Regions from separate parts of the Homo sapiens genome. Here region 2 is linked to region 1. Evidence: promoter capture Hi-C in 16 types of primary human blood cells and fetal thymus (Javierre and others, 2016). All regions are on one chromosome and are shown on one strand. Each heading gives the region's core, a stretch centred on a gene start or on the middle of the fragment in contact. The rest is flanking DNA. Distances are from core to core; before and after follow the strand shown. Region 1 holds the start of SPTSSB (serine palmitoyltransferase small subunit B). Region 2 overlaps PPM1L (protein phosphatase, Mg2+/Mn2+ dependent 1L).

Evidence for each region. Contacts are between HindIII fragments. The CHiCAGO score rates a contact against its expected background, and 5 or more counts as called.
Region 2: a contact is called between a fragment that was not itself captured here and the fragment with the promoter of SPTSSB in region 1, in 1 of 17 cell types (M2 macrophages). The highest score is 5.4, in M2 macrophages.

The regions. Positions count from the first base shown.
Region 1 is chr3:161,369,427-161,374,010 of GRCh38, forward strand. SPTSSB (serine palmitoyltransferase small subunit B) reads right to left here and starts at 2,091. Exons shown (of 3, transcript NM_001040100.2): 1 at 2,009-2,091. RefSeq lists enhancers at 1,564-2,118, 2,119-2,673. The HindIII fragment of the contact is 7,803 bases long and covers 1-4,584 here.
Region 2 is chr3:161,022,911-161,027,494 of GRCh38, forward strand. All of the region lies in intron 2 of PPM1L (protein phosphatase, Mg2+/Mn2+ dependent 1L), which reads left to right. Among named protein-coding and RNA genes, the nearest start is that of B3GALNT1, 80 kb to the right of the region's middle. The HindIII fragment of the contact is 1,377 bases long and covers 2,098-3,474 here.

The DNA.
Region 1 (4,584 bases), core at 841-3,340:
TTGGTGTGAAGTGGGATTGTACTGTGGTTTTGATTTGATTTTCATTTCCCCAACCACTAATGGCTAGTAAACACCTTCTCATGTGTAAATTGGCTGTTTCTACCTGCTCTTTGGAGAAATGTCTATTCAAATTTTTTTGTCCACTTTTAAATGAGTTGTGTTCTTGTTGTTGAGTTCTTCATTTTCTGTCTTAAGAGTGGAGGATGGTTGGAGGAAGAGAGCCTCAGAACTCTCAGTTGCTCTTATCTAGAATAGAGCTCTGAAACACAAAGCTGGGGATGATGAGTAATGCTGGTGGCCTGCTTCTCTCAGGGTATACTGTAGACGAGGATCTAGGTTGAGAGGGGGCCCTGCGTTAGTGGCTGCACCCATCCTTACTGGAACATCATCACACTCAACTGGAGAGGGTGGGGAAATATATTGTGGTTCAAGCATCACAATTGTTTGCAGTTCTTACTGAAATATAAGAGATTGTCTTGAATAAATATTTTCTTCGTGCTGTATGTCCTTAGGACAATTACCAGGAACTTTAAATGGTTATTTATCTATAATTTTCACCAGTTATTGTTGTTTTTAGGGAGTGGATTTGAAAAGCTCTTCACATCACCATTCTGGAAGTGAGTCCCATTTGGATCATTTTTTATGAATATTTTGTTTCTTTTATACTTGGTGGTAAGATAGTGGCAAAACTCTCTTTATAATTAGCATAGTAGAGATAGAATTGCTGTACAATTATAAAGGGCAGTTTTTATAAAAGTATTTGCAAATTTACAGTGAATTAAGAAAACCAATGAGAGTTGAGGACTGGTTGATTTTCAACTTCAAATCGACTTTCAACTTCAAATCTAGTCGAATTCTAGAATGACCATGCTTTGTTTTGACAAATAATTTTTAATTTATTATCATTAAATAGTTGTAAATAAATATCTGGATAATGAGAGTGACAGTACATTTCATACTACAGCTTGTTGGTTTTGGTCTAGTTATCTATGTACAAAGCCTTCACAGCCCTTGAGAAAGTCACCGAAATGACCTGTTTTAAACAGCATAGGAATAATTCAGATGTGGAAATCAAGTTATTAAAAATTCAACACTTTTATGTATACATTTTAGAATTTCACTAGCAAAAATTACCATGTCTTTCTTAATTTTTGTCTAATTCAAAATAAGTACTGCACCACAAAATCTTTTTGAAAAACAATTTTCCCAACTCCCCTGATGCAGTTATTTGGACTTTGGGGCTAGTTCTTACATTTAACAATTCTTCAAACTCCTTATGTGATTGTGGACTGGGCTCATATGTGAATTGCCAACCAGTTGAATGTCACTTTAGTTGAAACAAATCTGGAGTCCAACTCATATTTAAAATGCTACTCTAAACATTTCCCCACCTTCTTCATCCCCATGGCAAAGTTAACTATTTAGCTAACTCTAGCTGGCTGTCTTTTGGTGAAGAAGTTTGGTTACTTATAAAGGATGACTTAAGTATCTTTGAGAAAATACATACTGCTTAATACTTACAAGAGAATGTTAAAATGTATTCCTTGTTGGAAATTCTTCACTTTTTGGCAGGTGACTTGTGTGTACTATTGCCTAAAGTACAGTAGTTTAAGTAGCTTATGGGCAGAGAGGGATTGTATAGGAGCACGGAACTAGGTAAAGATGAATATTTAAGAAGGAAACCAAGCACAACCCAATGATATTTTCCTGAGTCGTTAATGGACTACACGAAGGTAAATAGTGAAAATAGTAAAGAAATTTTCTCTTCTTTTAGTTTGGAAAGTTTCAGTGTTAAAGTTTGGCTTCTACTGAGTGAAACATCTTAGTTTCCCACATAGTGAAAGGTAAATGGAAAAATCCATCAATTCTGAAAATTGTAATGCAGTTAAATAATAAACTGATAAATTGCATTAAAGCTCAGTATTAATTTTTTCCTCCTATAGAGACAGGAATTCTATCCTACTAAAGCTACTTAACAGTTCAAGTAGGTATTTTGGAAGATGCTTACCTCCCAGTTGGGTGTATCTCCCTGCGGCTTAGGTGAGCGCCGAGGCTTTGGCTCCTCCCCAGCTGCTGCGAGCTTCCCACTGCGCCGGGCGCCTGGGAGCCTCCCGGAGTTAGGTGTTCGGCCCCGCCCTCAGGACTCTTGCTAAAACTCAAATTCTACCTGGCTAATTCCGGTGATTAATTATTGACAAAAGGAAAACACTCCTACGCAAACTTGTGTCCAACCGCACTGCTCCCAGCGACTCCTTCCAGAAGAGAATGCCTGCTGCAACACTCCCCTCCCCCCCTTGCTCTATGGTCCCAACTTCTCATACGCTGCCACTCTTAGTCCTGGGCGATCAGACTGGTCCTCGGAGGAATGCAGCCCAACGACTTCTACATTTTAAAATCTGGTTTTCTGCAGCTCGTTCGCAGTTCTCCAGGGACCAGCCTCTCGAGAGGGGGCGCTTTCCCGGTGCAGGGGAAGCCGGGGCTCCGAGAGCAACAGAGGCGGCTGAGGCGTCGCTGTCACCTCCGGCTGCTGCAGTAAAACCCCGAGCCGAGGCGGGGACGGGGAGGAGGGGATAGGGAGGCGCCCTCCCCCGCTCTGGGGCTGGGATCCCCGACTCTACTGAAGGGGCACGTCCTTTGGCGGTGGTAGAGGGGCGGGCGGATAAACAGGAGGTAGAAGGTGGGAGCTCTGGGGCTTTAGCCTAAGCTGCGTTAAAGCGCTCAGGGAAAGCCCGCGCCCAGCATCCATCGGGCTGCAGACTTTGGCAAGGGGGCGAAGAAGCCCGGGTGTAAGCGCAGCAGGACTGCGTCTGAAACTCGGCATCAGGCTGCTAAGTGAGCCCAGGGCTCGGGCTGGGGCAGCGGGCGGCCAAGCAAGCATCCCACCCCATTTATTTGTCAAAAACCGAAGAAAGCAAAGCCTTTTAGCACTGGCAGCTAATTTTGGTGCCTCTGAACGTGTGAAACGCCCCTCCCCGCCCCACTCGCATCCTGCCACCTTGCCCGCGGTAGCTAGGAGGTTAATCGTTAAAAAGGTGGACTCCCCCAGGGAAATAGATGAAAGGATCGTGCCCGGAGAACTTGTGTGTGCCCACTCACAAGTGCAGAGAATTAATCTCGGCCCGGACTGCGGCAGGAGGGCAAACTGGGGAAAGAAGGCTGGGAGGCGGCCCGGTGGTGCAGAGACGCGCGGCGCCTGCTCCCGCGGCTCCCGGGGCTGGCGTGCCCTGCGCTTACGCTCCGCGCTCGAATATCTTCCCCGGAGGGCTCGGGACCAGCGCGAGCACCTTCCCTGGAAGCCCACATCCATCACCCAGCGATCTCCTCTCCATCGAGAGCAGGGCTTGCTGAGAGTGGCGGAGGACCTTGAAGGCTCCCGGTTCTGTATCTCCGTGGCCGAGACGCTTTCTGCTCGAGGCCCAGGGGAGTCCGGGAGCGAAAGCCTCTTTTGATGAATGAGCATTTGGGCAGTATCTGCCCATCAGCCCCCACTGCCGAAGGAGGAGACACTGCACATGCTCGGCCAGGGCTGATTGTGTTAAAGCGCGAATTTTAGCTGCTGGCAGGTCTCTGCTCATCCTCACAACGCGCTTTCAGCGGGTTCCACACTGCCAGGGCTATTACGAAGAGGGAGGCTCACGTTATTGGGCGGTGGTGTCTCCATGCAGGAGGGAGGATGTCCCCAGAGGAAGCTAAAGGTAGATGGGGGCAGGGAAGGGAACCAATAGAAACAGAGCACCTGCTTGGGCCCGTGTTAGCCATTTTACGTAGTTATCATTTCCTTCTGCTCCCGTGTCTAAATAGCAGCAACCACTGCTAGTGTTATTTATTTCTTTATCACTTTATGTTGGTCACATTCCTTATCTTTTGGCTTCTCGCGACACACCTTGCAATATTGGCAGGGTAGATATGACCACTCAGGGCATGTAGATCAGGAAATAGAAACCCTAAGAAAGGACTTGGCGGGGACTACCAAGGCCATGTTGGTGAGGCCAATTCTATTTACACTGGTAAATCTTATTTTTCATTATCTATTTACCCCCACTTAGTTGTGACACTCCACCCTCCATACTGTGATTGCACATTTGTGGAAATATAGAAATAGACCTTCTTGGCAAAGGTTTGTGAAATGGATATGAGACCTTGCAACTACTCCAACTGGAGGTTGGGGGAAACTGGCACAGCTGGCAGATGTATTCAGACCATTAAAAATAATCTTAAATAACATACACGTATTATAACCACACACAGGAACATCTTTATGAATATCTTAGCACCTCCAAACGGAGAATACATATTAACATGTTTTCCATACAACTATAGAACATTCTCGAAACTTAACTAGATCACAAACTATAGGTCAACACTTTTATTTTTATTTTTATTTTGGAGACAGGGTCTCACTCTGTCGCCCAGGTTGGAGCGGAGAGGCACAGTCACAGCTCACTGCAGTCTCAGCCTCCTGGGCTCAAGTGATCCTCCCGCCTCAGCCTCCTGTGTAGGTGAGACTACAGGCACGTGCCAGTACACCCAGCTATTTTTTAAATTCCTTAGAGAAGGGGTCTCATTTTGATGTCCAGGCTTAGG
Region 2 (4,584 bases), core at 1,536-4,035, 350 kb before region 1:
GCCTTGGCCTCCCAAAGTGCTGGGATTACAGGCATGAGCCACTGTGCCCAGCCTCTCCTTCATTTTTGAAGCACAATTTTGATGGATGGAGAATTCTTTGTTGACACTCTTTTCATGAGCACTTCGATATGTTGTCCCACTGCCTTCTGATGTCCATGGTTTCTGATGAGAAATCAGCTGTTAGTCTCATTTGAAACTTTCTTGTACATTATGAGGGTTTTTTTTTTTTTCTCTTGCTGCTCTCAAGATTCTCTTTCAGTCTTTGGCTTTTAACAGTTTGATTGTATGTCTTGGTGTGGATTTCTTAGAGTTTATTCTACTTGGAATTTGTTGAGGTTCTAGGATGTATAGATTAATGTATTTCATCCCATTTTGTAAGTTTTGGCCATTATTTCTTCAAATATTCTTTTGTTCCTTTCTCTGTCTCATCTCCTTTAGGGAATCCTATATATGTTGTTGCAATTCATGATGTTCCACAGATTGTTAAGGCTCTGCTCTATTAAAATTTTTTAAAATTCTTTTTTCTATCTATTTCTCAAATTAGGTAATGTCAATTGACCTATCTTCAAGTTTGCTGATTCTTTATTATGCCTCCTCATATCGGCTGTAAAATCCTTCTATTGAATTTTTCATTTCATTTACTACGCAAATATAAACCAGAATTTCTATTTGGTAATTTGGTAATTTTTTCATTGATACTCTCCATTCAATGAGATATCATCCTTATACTTTCCTTTAGTTCTTCAGACACAGTTTTCTTTGATTCTCTAAACATACTATGATAGTGGATTTAAAGTTTTTTTCTTGAAAGTCTAACATCTGGGCTTACTTGGGGGTAGTTTCTACTATTAGTTTTTTATCCCTGTGTATGGGCCGTACTTTCCTGTTTCTTTGCATTTCTTATTTTTTTTCACTTCTTGCTTGTGTAGGGCCATAAAGTCATCTAGAGGTAATAAATTAGGGCCTTTTAAGGTCTTTTCTGCACATGCACACAGTCTTACACATGTATCCCAGGAATATGTTGGAGCTTTTCAAATTCCACTGTGGACATCCATTTCCCAAATCTTCCCCTTAAGATTTTTGGGGCTGGGCATGGTGGCTCATGCCTGTAATCCCAACACCTTGGGAGGCCCAGACGGGCAGATCACTTGAGGTCAGGAGTTCGAGGCTAGCGTGGCCAACATGGTGAAATTAGCTGGGCAAAATTAGCCGGACATGGTGGCACACACCTGTAGTCCCAGCTACTCAGGAGGCTAAGGCAGGAGAATCTCTTGAACCTGGGAGGCAGAGGTTGCAGTGAGCCAAGATTGTGCCACTGCACTCCTGCCTGGGTGACAGGGCAAGACTCCGTCTCAAAAAAAAAAAAAAAAAAGATTTTTGGATAGTCTTTTGTTTGGCTTTCACATGACTGCAGTGTTAAATAATTGCCACTGATTGCTTTTAACCAATACCCTGGGGATAGGGCTTTCCTACCTCGGAAGCTCTGAATCAGATCAAATAAGCTCTGGCCGGGTGCAGTGGCTCATGCCTGTAATCCCAGCACTTTGGGAGGCGGAGGCGGGCAGATCACCTGAGGTCGGGAGTTCGAGACCAGCCTGACCAACATGGAGAAACCCCATCTCTACTAAAAATACAAAATTAGCTGAGCGTGGTGGCACATGCCTGTAATCCCAGCTACTCGGGAGGCTGAGGCAGGAGAATCACTTGAACCCAGGAGGCAAAGGTTGTGGTCAGCTGAGATCACGCCATTACACTCCAGCCTGGGCAACAAGAGTGAAACTCCATCTCAAAAAAAAAAAAAAAAGGAAGCTCTGCAAATGAGGTTTTTCCAGTGAGCTCCCAGACAGGTCAGATGGTGACAGTTTTCTGGGGATGGAGCTCTTCTTCAGAGTTCCAAACCTCCTCATCCCCTTTTCATGATGGTTAGGCTGCTAATTTTCACAACCACTGTGAATACAAGGCTGCTAGTTTTCAAGGTTGCCACAGAGTTGGCTAGAGAGGAATGAGAATAGGGTGAGTTAAAACAACACAAAGCTCACTCTTCTTACCAATATTCAGCCATTTTCTTCTTAAATAAGCATGCCTTAGTTTGTTGAAAGCTTCAGGCTAATTTCTAGAATTCTGAAAAAGTTGTTTTTAACAATTTTTTCCAGTGTTCTCATAGTTTCGTGGAAGAGCAGACTTTTGGAAGTGCTTACCCTGCCATTCCAGAAGTCTCTTATGTATAGGTGCTATGGTTTGAATGTTTTCTCACCAAAACTGAGGTGTTGCCTGTGTGACAGTATCAAGAGGTGGGGCCTTTAAGAGGTGATTAGGCCATGAGAGCTTCTCCTTCATGAATAGGTATAAGGCCCTTATAAAAGATCCTTCATGCCAGGTACAGTGGCTTGCGCTTATAATCCCAGCTACTCAGAGGGCTGAGGCAGAAGAATCACTTGAGGCCAGGAGTTTGAGACCAGCCTGGAAAACATAGTAAGAATCCACTTCTAAAAACTTAAAAAAAATAAATAAATTAGCCCGGCATGGTGGCATGTGCCTGTAGTCCCAGCTACTCAGGAGGCTGAGGCAGGATGATCCTTTGAGTTAAGGAGTTCGTGGCTTCATTGAGCTATGATCACATCACTGCACCTTAGCCTGGATGACACAGCAAGACCTCATTTGTAAATGAAAAAAAAAAAAAAAAAGAGTCTCATGCAGCATTTGGTTAGCTTGCCCTTCTATCTTCTACCATGTGAGGACTCAGCAAGAAGGCCCTCACTAGAGGCTGGTGCCTTGATCTTGGATTTCCCAGCCTCCAGAACTGTGAGAAAATTAATTTCTGTTCTTTATAAATTACCCAGTCACTGGTATTTTGTTATAGCAGCACAAATAAACTAAGACGATAGGTTAAGCAAAATGGAAATTAAATATAAACAAAAACTCTTTGAGATTGAGTTTATTTTGATTCACTAGGAAATTAATAGTTCCATGTATTTTCTTATAATAATATTTTAAAGATCTAAAGCAAATAAAGTAAAATCTTAAAAGTTATTAAAGTTGAGTGGTAGGTACGTGAATATTTGTTATATTTTACATTTTCTAGTTAGGGAAATAATAACAAACATAAAAAAATCTTTTTAAAAGAAATATAATTAAGACTAGTTTTGCAATGTAGTCCTAAGGGGAAGTCCAAAGAAGGAACCCAGAAAGGAGGTAAGAGGTGAGGGCCTAAAAGTGCCATTGGCTGTAGTTTACATTCAAACATTAACAGATAGTTATTAACTGCTTCCCAGATGCAATGGTAAGAGTTTGTACTGCCCTTAAGGGGGTACTCACTGGTGAAGGGTTAGACAAGCAAGCAGGTGTGCATGGTATAGTTTCAAAAGATAGCTAAGTGCTAGGTGCTAGGGGAATTTCCACAAAAGGAGGGCCTTTAATCCACAGCTGCTGAGGAAGAGCTGGGAAGACCTCTCAGAAGAGGTAACATCTTAGTCAAGCTTTATAAAGGATGAATAAAAGTTGACGGCCGGGCGTGGTGGCTCACGCCTGTAATCCCAGCCCTTTGGGAGGCCGAGGCAGGAGGATCACCTGAGGTCAAGAGCTCAAGACCAGCCTGGCCAACATGGCAAAACCCTTTCTTTACTAAAAATACAAAAATTAGCTGGGCACGGTGGTGGGCGCCTGTAATCCCAGCTGCTCAGGAGGCTGAGGCAGGAATCCCTCACTTGAACCCAGGAGGCAGAGGTTACAGTGAGCCGAGACCACGCCACTGCACTCCTGCTGGGGAAACAGAGTGAGACTCTGTCTCAAAAAAAAAAAAAAAGAAAATTGACAAGGAGATAGAAGTGTCTTGGTGTCTTGTGCAGGGGAAAATGTACTTGCCAAACTGGTTTTTAATGGCCAGACTCAAGGAACAAGGTAATGGGTGGTGAACAAGAACAATTCACATAGGCCATGCCAATTGTTGAGTTTAAATCCTGGAGGCTATTGCTCTTTGGAAGATTTTAAGGTGGAGAAATAGCAGGGGAAGAAGGGCAGTGAGTACACTGGCTCCAGAGATGAGGGCTGGAATCTGGTGTCAAATTCTGGCTCTGAAACTTACTACCTTGGATCTTGGACAAGTTACGCAAGGTCTCTATGCATTGGTTTTCTCATCTGTAAAATGGAGATAATATTGTCTACCTCACAGAGCTGTTCTCAGCTTTAAATAAGCTAACTGATGTTAATCACTCAGAGGTATATCTAACCACATTGTAAATGCTTAGCAGCTACTAGGAAATTCAAGCAATTTTATGTAAAGATTGGATCATGCTTTAGAAAGATGGCTTTGACAGCACTGTGGAGCAGCTATGATGGGAGTGGGGAGATTGCAGGCCAAGAGACCTTTAGACGATTGGTGCAATCAAGGTGTAGGCCTAGGAGCAGCAGTCAGCATCACCTGGTGTATTAGTCCATTTTCACACTGCTGATAAAGACATACCTGACACTGGGTAATTTATACAGGAAAAAGGGTTTAATGGACGTACAGTTAGTTAGTTCCCTGTGACTGGGGAAGCCTCACAATCGTGGCAGAAGGCAAGGAGGAGCAAGTCTTACCTTACATGG